Linked DNA regions of Homo sapiens: regions 1, 2 and 4 are each linked to region 3. The links are contacts of gene promoters, found by promoter capture Hi-C in blood cells and fetal thymus (Javierre and others, 2016). All regions are on one chromosome and are shown on one strand. Each heading gives the region's core, a stretch centred on a gene start or on the middle of the fragment in contact. The rest is flanking DNA. Distances are from core to core; before and after follow the strand shown.

The links. The method cuts DNA at HindIII sites, captures the fragments that hold promoters and counts their contacts. A CHiCAGO score of 5 or more calls a contact.
Region 1: a contact is called between a fragment that was not itself captured here and the fragment with the promoter of RNF157-AS1 in region 3, in 16 of 17 cell types (activated CD4 T cells, M1 macrophages, M0 macrophages and 13 more). The highest score is 14.8, in activated CD4 T cells.
Region 2: a fragment that was not itself captured here is called in contact with the fragment with the promoter of RNF157-AS1 in region 3 in 7 of 17 cell types (non-activated CD4 T cells, naive CD4 T cells, naive CD8 T cells and 4 more); the score reaches 13.5 in non-activated CD4 T cells.
Region 4: a contact is called between a fragment that was not itself captured here and the fragment with the promoter of RNF157-AS1 in region 3, in 5 of 17 cell types (M1 macrophages, total B cells, M2 macrophages and 2 more). The highest score is 6.0, in M1 macrophages.

What each region holds. Positions count from the first base shown.
Region 1 is chr17:76,288,152-76,290,959 of GRCh38, forward strand. QRICH2 (glutamine rich 2) reads right to left here. Exons shown (of 19, transcript NM_001388453.1): 5 at 1,841-1,926. Among named protein-coding and RNA genes, the nearest start is that of QRICH2, 19 kb to the right of the region's middle. The HindIII fragment of the contact is 4,189 bases long and covers 1-2,808 here.
Region 2 is chr17:76,269,650-76,272,742 of GRCh38, forward strand. UBALD2 (UBA like domain containing 2) reads left to right here. Exons shown (of 3, transcript NM_182565.4): 3 at 545-1,649. The coding sequence ends at 856. Among named protein-coding and RNA genes, the nearest start is that of UBALD2, 5.8 kb to the left of the region's middle. RefSeq lists enhancers at 412-601, 1,482-1,701, 2,289-2,813, 2,642-2,691, 2,814-3,093 and silencers at 2,392-2,491, 2,932-3,071. The HindIII fragment of the contact is 5,749 bases long and covers 1-3,093 here.
Region 3 is chr17:76,139,231-76,142,217 of GRCh38, forward strand. RNF157-AS1 (RNF157 antisense RNA 1) reads left to right here and starts at 1,326. Exons shown (of 8, transcript NR_040017.1): 1 at 1,326-1,450. FOXJ1 (forkhead box J1) reads right to left here and starts at 2,015. Exons shown (of 3, transcript NM_001454.4): 1 at 1,884-2,015; 2 at 668-1,334. The coding sequence starts at 1,165. RefSeq lists an enhancer at 1-441 and silencers at 853-1,042, 1,103-1,172, 1,851-2,010. The HindIII fragment of the contact is 14,991 bases long and covers 1-2,987 here.
Region 4 is chr17:76,336,687-76,339,567 of GRCh38, forward strand. All of the region lies in intron 3 of PRPSAP1 (phosphoribosyl pyrophosphate synthetase associated protein 1), which reads right to left. It also overlaps the pseudogene RNU6-24P. Among named protein-coding and RNA genes, the nearest start is that of PRPSAP1, 16 kb to the right of the region's middle. The HindIII fragment of the contact is 279 bases long and covers 1,312-1,590 here.

The sequences.
Region 1 (2,808 bases), core at 268-2,767, 150 kb after region 3:
GGCGGGTGGATCACCTGAGGTCAGGAGTTCAAGACCAGCCTTGCCAACAAGGGGAAACCCATCTCTACTAAAAAATACAAAAATCAGCTGGGCGTGGTGGCTGGCGCCTGTAATCCCAGCTACTCAGGAGGCTGAGACACGAGAATCATTTGAACCTAGGAGGCAGAGGTTGCAGTGAGGCGAGATTGTGCCACTGCACTCCAGCCTGGGCAACAGAGCAAGAATCAGTCTTAAAAAAAAAAAAAAAAAAAAAAAAAAAAAGGAATGACTGGGCCGGGCGTGGTGGATCACACCTGTAATCCCAGCACTTTGGGAGGCTGAGGTGGGAGGATCACCTGAGGTCAGGAGTTCCAGACAAGCCTGACCAACATGGTGAAACCCTGTCTCTACTAAAAATACTAAAATTAGCTGGGCATGAACATGCATGCCTGTAATCCCAGCTACTTGGGAGGCTGAGGCATGAGAATAGCTTGAACCCAGGGGGCAGAGGTTGCAGTGAGCCGAGATCGCATCATTGCACTCTAGCCTGGGCAACAGAGCGAGACTCCGTCTCAATTTAAAAAAAAAAAGGAGAATGTCTGAAGGGATCTGGCCGTCCCTTGCAATGACCTCTGGCCCCAGAAAATCCACAAACTGGACTCCAAGGCTGCCACAGATAATGAAAAGAGCAAGGCCGGGTGTGGTGGCTCACGCCTGTAATCCCAGCACTTTGGGAGGCCGAGGCAGGCAGATCACAAGGTCAGGAAATCGAGACCATCCTGGCTAACACGGTGAAACCCCATCTCTACTAAAAATACAAAAAATTAGCCGGGCGTGGTGGCGAGCACCTGTAGTCCCAGCTACTTGGGAGGCTGAGGCAGGAAAATGGCGTGAACCTGGGAGGTGGAGCTTGCAGTGAGCCGAGATTGCGCCACTGTACTCCAGCCTTGGCGACAGAGTGAGACTGTGTCTCAAAAAAAAAAAAAAAGAAAAAAAGAAAAGAGCAAAGCCCTCATTATTTGGCTCAGCTGAATCATAATAGCTTTGAGCATCAGTTTTTAAAAAAAATTTTTTTAGAGACAGGGTCTTGCCCTGTCACTCAGGCTAGAGTGCCATGGCGTGATCATAGCTTACTGCAGCCTCAAACTCAGGCTCAAGTGATCCTCCTGCCTCAGCCTCCCAAGTAGCTGAGACTACAGGCATGCACCACCATGTCTGGCTAATTTTTAAATTTTTTGTAGAGATAAGTCCTTGCTATGTTGCCCAGGCTGGTCTCGAGCTCCCGGGCTCAAGTGATCCTCCTGCCTTGGCCTCCCAAAGTGCTGGGATTATAGGCATGAGCCAGCGTGCCCAGCCTGAGCATCAGGTTTTAGATCCAGGAAATGAACACGATGATACCCAAGGTGCAGTTCCTATCTGATAAGATTGCAAAGATCCAATTAGATAATAATGTAAAAGAAAGAGCTATTTAATCCGTAAAATACAAATGGAAAGTGCTATTATTAGCATTAAAAGACAAAGTGGGGGCTGGGCACGGTGGCTCACGCCTGTAATCCCAGCACTTTGGGAGGTCAAGGTAGGCAGATCATCTGAGGTTGGGAGTTCAAGACCAGGCTGACCAACATGGAGAAACCCCATCTCTACTAATAATAATACAAATAATAATACAAAATTAGCCGGGCATGGTGGCACATGCCTGTAATCCCAGCTACTCGGGAGGCTGAGGCATGAGAATCGCTTGAACCTGGGAGGTGGAGGTTGAGTGAGCTGAGATGGTGCCACTGCACTCCAGCCAGGGCGACAAGAGCAAAACTCCATCTCAAAAAAAAAAAAAAGACAAAGTGGGTTGACTCTTCCTTACTTTTGCTTTCTCCTGCCAAACTTCTTTGGCTAGCGTCTTTACGGTCTTCAGCTGCTCCTGCAGTTCAGGAGGTATGGTCCTTTTGACTATGGAAAGCAGAAGCCTTATGATCAGAGGGGTTAGATCTCTAGTGGGCTCCCAATCTCCATTTCCAGCCCCTGTAACACTGAAGCTACCCTAGAGGACAGCAGGACCTATTACTTTATCCTGTGTCTCCTGGTGACTGGGAAAGGGAGGTGGGAAGAAGGGAGAGAGAGCTGTCCTTAGCCCATGAAACATCCACCTAATGCCTGACATCCTAAAGGGCTTTGGGACAACTGACTCCCGAATTCCAACCACTGCAAAAAATCTTAATTACTCTCTGGGCTTGGAGTTGGGAACAGGCAAATGTTAAGTTTTGTTTTGTTTGAGACAGGGTCTTGCTCTGTCACCCAGGCTGGAGTGCAGTGATCCATCACAGCTCACTGCAACCTCTGCCTCCCTGGCTCCAACAATCTTCCCACCTCAGCTTCCCAAGTAGCTGGGACTACAGGTGTGTGCCACCACGCCTGGCTAATTTTTTTTTTGTTTTTTTTGGTAGAGATAGAGTTTTGCCACATTGCCTAGGCTGGTCTCGAACTCGGCCTCAAGCTATCCACCCAGCTCTGCTTCCCAAGGTGCTGGGATTACAGGTGTGAGCCATTGCTCCCAGTCAAAATGTTAAGTTTAATTCTTCAACATTCTCTCCCGCCCACCTCCCAATGCTACTGCTCTCTATAACCAGACACTTTCCCCCACTGCTGTGCAGAGAGCCTGACAAAGCCACAAGAACCCGCTCCACTCCTCTCCTGGGGCTTAGTTCTCTCCTTTGCCCACCCATTTTTTTGGACTCTGAAGGCTGTGGGACATGCTCTGAATGACATGCTGTTTTCAGGGACTCAGGGAGATGTGTAGCAGCCAGGAGTTGAGGCCAGGGGAAGAAAAGGATG
Region 2 (3,093 bases), core at 272-2,771, 130 kb after region 3:
CATTGTTAAGGGAGGCAAAGCCTTCAAGGCCTGGTGGCTGTCACCCTTAGTGTGGTGTGAACCCATCCACCAAGGTGGCTTAACTTTTCCAGGGTTGGCACAGGAGGGAGAGCCTCCCCGCTGGCCGCTCTCCCTTGCCTAGCAGCCTGGGAGCATCTGAGGGTGGCTGGTGGGGCAGTCAGCTGGTCTCCCTGCCCAGGGAAGGTGCGGAACAGTGGTGTCCTGGGCTGCCCCCTTGCCCTTTCACTTTAATCTGACACCTTAGCTCCTGGGTGCAATTAACCATTTACTTTGAATGCTCCTCGGGGTGTCATTTCCAGGCCTCATGAAACCCCGTTGGTTTTGATAAGGTTCTTGGGTTTTGTCCTTGTTTTCTGTTTGTATTGCCTCGGGGAGAGGGCACTTTTGTCCTGTGGAAGCTGCTTGTGCGAAAATGAATGAAGCTGAAAAATGGGAGTAAAGGAGCGGCTGGCCTGGGTAAGCCCCATCCAGTGGCTCGGGGACCCCCGAGGCAGCCTCCCCACACCCGTGTTCTCTCCCGCAGATGTGCACTCCCAGCAACACCCCTGCCACGCCGCCCAACTTCCCCGATGCGCTGGCCATGTTCTCCAAGCTCCGCGCCTCCGAGGGCCTGCAGAGCAGCAACAGCCCCATGACAGCCGCAGCCTGCTCCCCACCTGCAAACTTCAGCCCCTTCTGGGCCTCGTCCCCGCCCAGCCACCAGGCGCCCTGGATCCCGCCCTCCTCCCCCACCACCTTCCACCACCTCCACCGCCCACAGCCCACGTGGCCCCCAGGAGCACAGCAGGGGGGCGCCCAGCAGAAAGCCATGGCGGCCATGGACGGCCAGAGATGAGACTGGACGCCGCCGGGCGCTGGGCTGGAGCTGGGGGCAGCCCAGGGTTGTGGGGACACAGGAGGGCCAGGGAGGGGGGAGCCGGGGAGGGCAGGGGGTTTCCCGAAGATCGCACTGGAAGATTTTATAAAAGAATTTTTGTGGGTCGGGGGGACAGTAAACTTCCTGGGCCACGTGGGTCCTTCAGGAGTTTTTCAGGCAAGTTTTTCCTCTGTTTTTAATATATAACTATAATATATATGAATAGATAAATATAACTAATGTGCGTGAGAATGGGCCTGGCACACCTGGGGTGCTCGGGGGTAGGGCTGCCATGCTGCAGAGCTGATGGAGTGATGTTGTGGGCACAAGGCATCTGTCAGCTGCCTCCTTTAACAGCCATGCCTTCTGGAATCTGGAAGAGGACACCACTCCTGCAGTCACTGGGCAGCCACATAGCAGCTGCAGGTCCCAGGAGGGCCTGAGGTCAAAGCTGTGGAAGGCCCTCTTGGTATCAGGGCTCTCTCCCCATGGCCTCTTCCCCACCTCTGATTGCTGGTTGTGGCCCCATAGCTCATCACCCCTGTCTCCTGCTGAATGTGCAGGGCTGATGTGGCACTGAGGAGCTGACTTTGGTCAAAGGCCAGGCTCTGCCCAGCAGGGGACTTGACTGCCCTGGGCGCCCTGCCCCTCCCGCTGCGTGTCCAGGTCCAAAGTGGAGAGCCTGCCTTTGGGTTTAGTTCCCGAATCAGAATCCCATCTCACCAGGGCGAAATTTTAATTTAAAAACTTAAAAAGAGACTTTTCTAACTTCCCTGGTTTGCGGTGCTTTTATTTCCGTTGGTGGGAAAAGCGGTCTCCTCAGAAGAGGGGTGGTGGGGGTCCCTTGCCACTGGGCTGGTCTGGATGTTTTTGCTGTGGGATGGTCACACCAGGGGCTCTGACAGCAAGGTCCAGGTTGGTGTGGGGAGGAGAGAGGGGCCGGGGTCCGTCCTGAGTTTCTGTGACCTTCCCTTCTTGGCCCCATCGGTGTAGCCCCCACCCACAGAGCCCTAGTGAGAAGAGCTGGAAGCCATTTTCATCTACAGTGGGGAGAGCTTCCTTCTAGCTGGGGGCCTCCTGATGGCCCCCCCAGGCCCTCCCAGGAAGCATCTTCCAGCTGGGCTCATCTCCGATACTCCTCTCCTCAGCTTCCCGGGGGCAGTATGTCCCTTTGGGTCATGGCCTGTGGAGTGGCCATGACCCAAAGTTCAATTAAGGCTGGCGGGTCCCCAGAGGGGCCTGCTTCCATTCCCCCTTCCCCGCAGCCCTGCAGGCGTCAGCATGGGGCGAGGTTACCAGTTCCTGACCCAGCAGCTCGTCCTCAGGTGGTCCTGCTGCTCGGGAGGTCAGCTGCGTGGGGAGCCTGTCCACCTGGCTGATGGGGGTGATGGCCGCGTGGCTGGGATTCCTCCTCCAGCCCTGCCCTTCACCGCCATACAGTCTGGGCAGCCCCTTCCTGTCCCGTCCTCCTGCCTCGCCCTCTGCTGGGGTCTACGGGGCCCAAGTCTTGCTGGAACACAGGCAGGACAAGGGTTCTGGAGGTTCAGGCCGGAAGTGAAATAAAAGTCGAGAGGGGCCGGGCCCGGCACCCACCGCATCCTGCCTCCGGGCCTCCTCGGGCCCCTCACACGGTGGGGCAGCCCCTCCTCCAGTGGAGCGGAACGGTGGGCCCCGCTGCCCCTCCACCCCTGCGTGTGACACGGACGTGCTTGGAAGCTGGGTTCGTCCTTTCAGTTTTGTTTCCTGGTTGGAAACCCCTGAGACTCCTCCCCCTCCCCCCGCCCCTGCCCACCTGTGCTTTCCCAGGCTGGAAGGGGCAGCCCCTCTCAGCACGTGGGTGGTTAGGCTGTGACGTCCCCAGGCCTCCTGGGCCTGCACCGGGGTCCACCCAGGTGTGGGCCATGCCCAGGTGCGGGAATGGTCGGGGGTTGCCCTGGCCGGCTTAGGGAATGTCGCTCTGGGACCTTCTGTGGGCGTGGGGAAGGCCTGGGTGAGGAGGGCTGGGCTGCACCTCCCTGCCAAGCTGGTGAATTTGGCTTCTAGACCCGGGAAACTGAGCCACCTTCTGACATTTCACAGCCAGGGTGGGGCCGAGAGCAACAGGAGCCCAGCTGGAGCCTGGGAGGGGTGGCCCTGCCTCTGCCTCCTGCCCGGGGAGAAAGGGGCTGGGGCCCAGGGGTGCCCGCCCGGGGCTCCGCTGTCTGAGCAGCTCCTCT
Region 3 (2,987 bases), core at 76-2,575:
GCTCAGGTAATTGTCCCCCCAGGGAGGTTGGCTGACAGCGGGGGTTGGAGGCAGGAAACTGAGCAGAGGTTGAGGTGGGGGGCTGGGACAGCAGCTTTAGGAAGGCCCCTTACCCCCTCCACCCTCCATTGGGACACACCTGGCCCTCACATGCTAAGGCACCCCTTCCATTCCACCCTCCCCAAGCCAACTGCAAAAGGGCAGGACGTAGAGCCTGGCAGGGAGGCCACGTTCCAGTTTCCGTTTCTGACTCCCGGCCCCGACAAACCATCCCGGGGCAGGGCAGTGTCTAGGAATTCTAGGACTTGGGACAAGAATGCGCCTTCAGTTCATCGCTCTCCCCAAGGAGATTCTGTCCACGCAGAGTCTAGCCCTGGTCTTTGGCCTGGGCCTGCTGGATGAATGGCAGGTTATTTCCCCTTGAATCTCAGCCTCTGCACCCCTAAAGCCCTCCACCTCTGGACATTCTCCCTTCTCTCTCTCTCTCTCTCTGGAAGTCAAAGGAGGGGCAGTTGCAAGAACTGGGCTCCTTTGCAGGGCTCCCTTCTGGGGCGCTGGCCGCACCGCAGAGCCTACTTGGCCTGCAGATTTGGGATATGAATCCAGTGCAGCGTGGGGAGCGAGGAGGGAATGGGGAGGGAGCGGCCGCCGCCCGTGCCTCCTCTACCTGCCAGGTGGGATCTGCGTGGCGGAAGTAGCAGAAGTTGTCCGTGATCCACTTGTAGATGGCCGACAGGGTGATCTTGGTGGCCTTGCTGGCCTGCATGGCCATGCAGATGAGCGTGGCATACGAGTAGGGAGGCTTCACGTGCGGATTGGTGGCGTAGTCCACGTCGTCGGGGGGTGGGGCCTGCAGCCCCGGGGGCGCGCTCCGCGACGTGCACGACGACGTGGGCTTGCCCGGCGTGTGTGGCTGCCCCAGGCAGGCGGGGTCGGCCGCCAGGGGGGACCCGGGCGCCGCTGAACCTGGCACCTGGTGGTAGCCGTGGGGGTCGGTGCCCCCCGGGGGCAGGGCGGGGGCCTTGGCGTTGAGAATGGAGAATTCCTGCAGCCACTGCAGGCTGGTCAGGCTGTCATCCAGGGCGTCGGGCTCCTCCAGGCCGCCCTCCGGCCCGGCCTCCTCCGCCGGCCCGGCTCCCGAGAGGCGCAGCCAGCTCTCCGCCATGTCTGCGGGGACTCTCCGAGGGGGCGGTCAGCATCCACGGGCTGAGCCGGGGGTGGCCCGCCGCGCTCTCTGGCCCGCTGAGTCCCGCAGCTCCCGTTACACGGCCTCCCGGACGCGCGCTTCCATCTCGCGACCCCGGGGGCGCCTCCTCCGAATAAGTATGTGGTGCCTGCGAGGACCACGGTGGGAGCTGAGCACTACCCCACCCCCGAGGGGACAGTGTGTGTACGGGGACGCCCTCTCTAACATCATCCCCGCAGCTGGGGAGGATCTTTTAGTGCCGAGGTATGGGAAACAGAAGCAAGGCCCTGGGGTCCCACCCCCATCAGATCTGCCTCCCTCTTCCTTTCCTCTTCGAGGTTTTATTAGCCAAATGAAGAGGGTAGGGGCATCCGAGGCTATCCTTTTCTCCCGAAGAGCAGGAAATCAGGACCCCCTTCCTCCTCGCAACAAATGGAAGTGGGGCGAGAAGTTTGGGAGGGCGGTACGACGGGGCGGGGGCGGTGGAGGTCCTCTGATCCTTGAAAAGGAATATTATGATAGGGGATCATTGGGAAGGAAGGGGACGGAACAGTAACGGGGGGCAGGAGGCGAGTTTCCCCCAGACTTCTCCGATGTCAGTCCCTGGGCCCACCACTTCCGTTAAGGACGAATGAGAGAGCGGGTTGGTACCGTTGCCCACCCTTCCCCCTGGCCTGCAGCCCTCCCCATCCCTTACCTGGCTCAGAGCGCAGCCCGGGCCAGAGGAAGGTTCTGGAAGAAGTTGCTCCCACCCCCTGCGGCTCTCTGCCCCCAGCTCGGGGGCCCTGCCAGCGCCTCTTGCCGCCCCCCCGCCCGACGGCGCTTCTCTGAGCTACCGCGGCCCCGGGACCGGCATTAAGTAGCCGCTCCAAAGGCTTCTCCTGCTGCCATGGCGACGCTCCGCCCCCATAAACAGCTTCCGCCTCTGCCATTGGCCAGCACGTCTCCAAGGAGACCGCGGGCACTTGCCACTCTCCCTGGCGGCAACTCTCTTCGAACTCCCTCCTTCTGCCGCCCTCTCCCGCGCCACCCAACCCCCTACCCGCCGCTAAGTCCCGGCTCGGCTCATTCCCGCCCGAGGGCCCCGCGCTGGGGTCGGAGAAGCGCGCGGCCTGCGGCACCGGGAACCGCTATGGATCCGTTCGTTCTGGGGAACCAAGACTCTCGCCCCCACCCCCTTCCTGTCCCGTACGCTTTGAGGCGTCGACTGCTCCTGGGACGGAGCCTGGGGTTGGGGGGCTAAGGCTGGGAGCGGGCTCAGGCTCGGGAACCGTATCCTTGAGGTTTTCTTTCCTCTCCGCTACGAGTGGCACTTTCTCATGTTTCTGCAGCCTTTCCCTCTCCCCCGACTCTTAGGGTCTTTCTCTGGTGTCCCAGGCAGGTCTGACTTTCCGATGCCACCTGCCGCTTACATCCACAGAGGCGGCAGACACACCAAGGGGGTAGGGTAATCCAGTGTGTCCCAGTAAGCAGCTCCTTCCCCACCCGTATCCTCGAGGTTCCAGGAAGCTGACATTCCAGAGGCTTCTGCAGAAGCGCACTCACTCCTCTGGAGACAGCTGATGAAGCAGAGCCCGTGGGTAAAACTCTGAAGTCATGGACTTGTCAAATTCTCCTAGCGGGGTCATTTGCCCAATTAATTTCACCAACCTTTAAGTCACAGGGATTAAGAGTAGAGGGACTCTGGGGACTGTGTCCCTTCCTCCTCCCTTCCCCTGGCCTCCCTCCTGTCACCAGCTTTCCTGCTCTTTAATTATTGAGGAGCTGCAGGGTTGGACGTTCTCCGGTTTAAGGCGGCTGC
Region 4 (2,881 bases), core at 201-2,700, 200 kb after region 3:
ATGCCATTGCACTCCAGCCTGGGCAACAAGAGTGAAACTCCATCTCAAAAAAAAAAAAAAAAAAAAAAAAAGAGCAATTTCCCATGAGGTTTTTATTTTCCATTTTTCCAAGGGATTCAACATCCTCCAGCCCAACGCTAAAGAAAGCTCCATACCTCACCCCTTATTGGTCAGAAAGGTGACAAAAGGGGCTTTGTCACATTGGCTTTACCCATTCACTGAGAGATACCGGACAAATTGGACACCAGGCAGTTACTTTGTGAACTAGCAGGGCGAAGGGAAATCGGCTGGCAGTCTCTGCTTTATCTGTTCCCTAAGAATGTTGCAAGTACACCCTGGCTAGCTCTTGTAGTCTTTATCTCTAAGTAGGACATTCTTAATTGTTTTACCAACTACTTTTCTTTCTTTTTTTTAAATAGAGAAAGGTCTCACCATGTTGCCCAGCTGGTCTTGTACTCCTGGGCTCAGGCAATCCTCCCGCCTTGGCCTCCCAAAGTGCTGGGAGTACAGCTTGAGCCATCATGCCCAGACAACCAACTACTTTTCTTTCCCCTAAGAAAACCACATCCTATATTAAGTCCAGCCCTTACTGCTCTAGCATTTTGGACAGGCAAAAACTAACCTGAGGTGTGCTCTCTTCAGCAGCACATATACTAAAATTGGAATGATACAGAGAAGATTAGCATGGCCCCTGTGCAAGGATGACACGCAAATTCGTGAAGTGTTCCATATTGGAAAACAACAACAACAACAACAACAACAAACTAACCTGAGATGAGGAAACAGGCATGGTATACGCATTCATTAAACTAGCCAGGCTCGCAAAAAGAGAAACCACACCACAGCTGGAAGTAATGGGGGAGAATTTACCCTGCTCCCAACTGTAACAATTAATCATCTGCAGCAGCTGGGAATTTTTTGTTGTTGTTTTGAGACTGAGTCACTCTGTCACCCAGGCTGGAAGGCGAGAGTGCAGTAGCACCATCTTGGCTCACTGCAACCTCTGCCTTCCGGGTTCAATCGATTCTCCCACCTCAGCCTTCCGAATATCTGGGATTACAGGCACCTGCCACCATGCCTGGTTAATTTTTTGTATTTTTAGTAGAGACGGGGTTTCACCATGTTGGCTAGTCTGGTCTCAAACTCCTGACCAACTGATCCACCTGCCTCGGCCTCCCAAAGTGCTGGGATTACAGGTGTGAGCCACCGTGCCCAGCTGTAAATGTTATTTTAATGAGTCTGCTTACTTTACATCAACACACTAGAACTTGTACATAAACATAAAAATTAACCTTTAAAATATACTTCATAAGCTTCATATTTTACTTAGTTCCATTGCTTGGTATATCTGGAAAATCTCTGAGTATCGCACAGTTCAATTACCCAAAATAATCATTTTGTTCTGAATGGCTTTTTGCCATTTCCAAAAATTAAACCTATCCTCAACGACCAAAAGGTTGCTATTATTAGAACAGTCAAAAGAAATATGCTGCAAGTTTGGAAGCAGTAGTTCCAAAGCTATTCCAAGCAAAAACAGCACCAAAAAAAGGTATCTATGTGATTTTAGAACAACAGCTCTGAAGGCAACTAAGCTTATTTTAATGTCTAAGCTTTGGTCTGTTTGCCTAAAATTAGCCTTATTACTTTAGGCAATGCCCCCTTCCTCCCAACAACAGAAAAACCTGTAAAAGATATTCCTTCATCTATGTAACCGCAGATAATATTAAAAAACCAGGTCGGGCACAGTGGCTCATGCCTGTAATCCTAACATTCTGGGAGGCTGAGGCAGGTGAATCACCTAAGGTCAGGAGTTCGAGACCAGCCTAGGCAACATGGAGAAACCCCATCTCTACTAAAAATACAAAAATTAGCTGGGTGTGGTGGTGTGCACCTGTAATCCCAGCTACTCAGGAAGCTGAGACAGGAGAATTGCTTGAACCCAGGAGGCAGAAGTTGCAGTAAGCCGAGATTGTGCCACTGCACTCCAACCTGGGCAACACAGCAAGACTCCGTCTCAAAAAATAAATAAAATAAAATATAAAATATAAAATAAAATAAAAAATTAGGCCAGGCATGGTGGCTCATGCCTGTAATCCCAGGACTTTGGGAGGCCGAGGTGGATGGATCACCTGAGGTCAGGGGTTCAAAACCAGCCTGGCCAACATGGTAAAACCCCATCTCTACTAAAAATACAAAATTAGCCAGGCATGGTGGTACATGCCAGTAATCCCAGCTACTCGGGAGGCTCAGGCAGGAGAATCACTTGAACCTGGAAAGTGGAGGTTGCAGTGAGCCAAGGTCACACCACTGCACTCCAGCCTGGGCAACAAGAAAGAAACTCGTCTCAAAAAAAAAATTAAATTAAATTAAATTATCTGTGTTCTTTAGTTGGTACTAAAGTATCCAGTACTCAAGCACTACAAAAACTAGTTTATTGACTGGGCACGGTGGCTCACGTCTATAATCTCAGCACTTTGGGAGGCCAAGGCGGGTGGATCACCTGAGGTCAGGAGTTTGAGACCATTCTGGTCAACACTGTGAAACCCCGTCTCTACTAAAAATACAAAAATCAGCTGGCTGTGGTGGCACACGCCTATAATCCCAGCTACTCAGGAGGCTGAGGCAGGAGAATTGCTTGAACCTGGGAGGCAGAGGTTGCAGTGAGCCGAGATCACGCCACTGCACTCCAGCCTGGGCAACACAGCAAGCCTCCGTCTCAAAAAAACAACAAAAAGAACCAGTTTATTGTGACAAACCTAATAACCTTCTTTATGGGCTGCACACCCACACAAAACAACACATCCAACCTGTCTTTTTTCCAAATTTTTCCTTTCTTCTTCCATCCCTATCAGCTTAAGAGACAGAGAAAATGCCAGGTGAT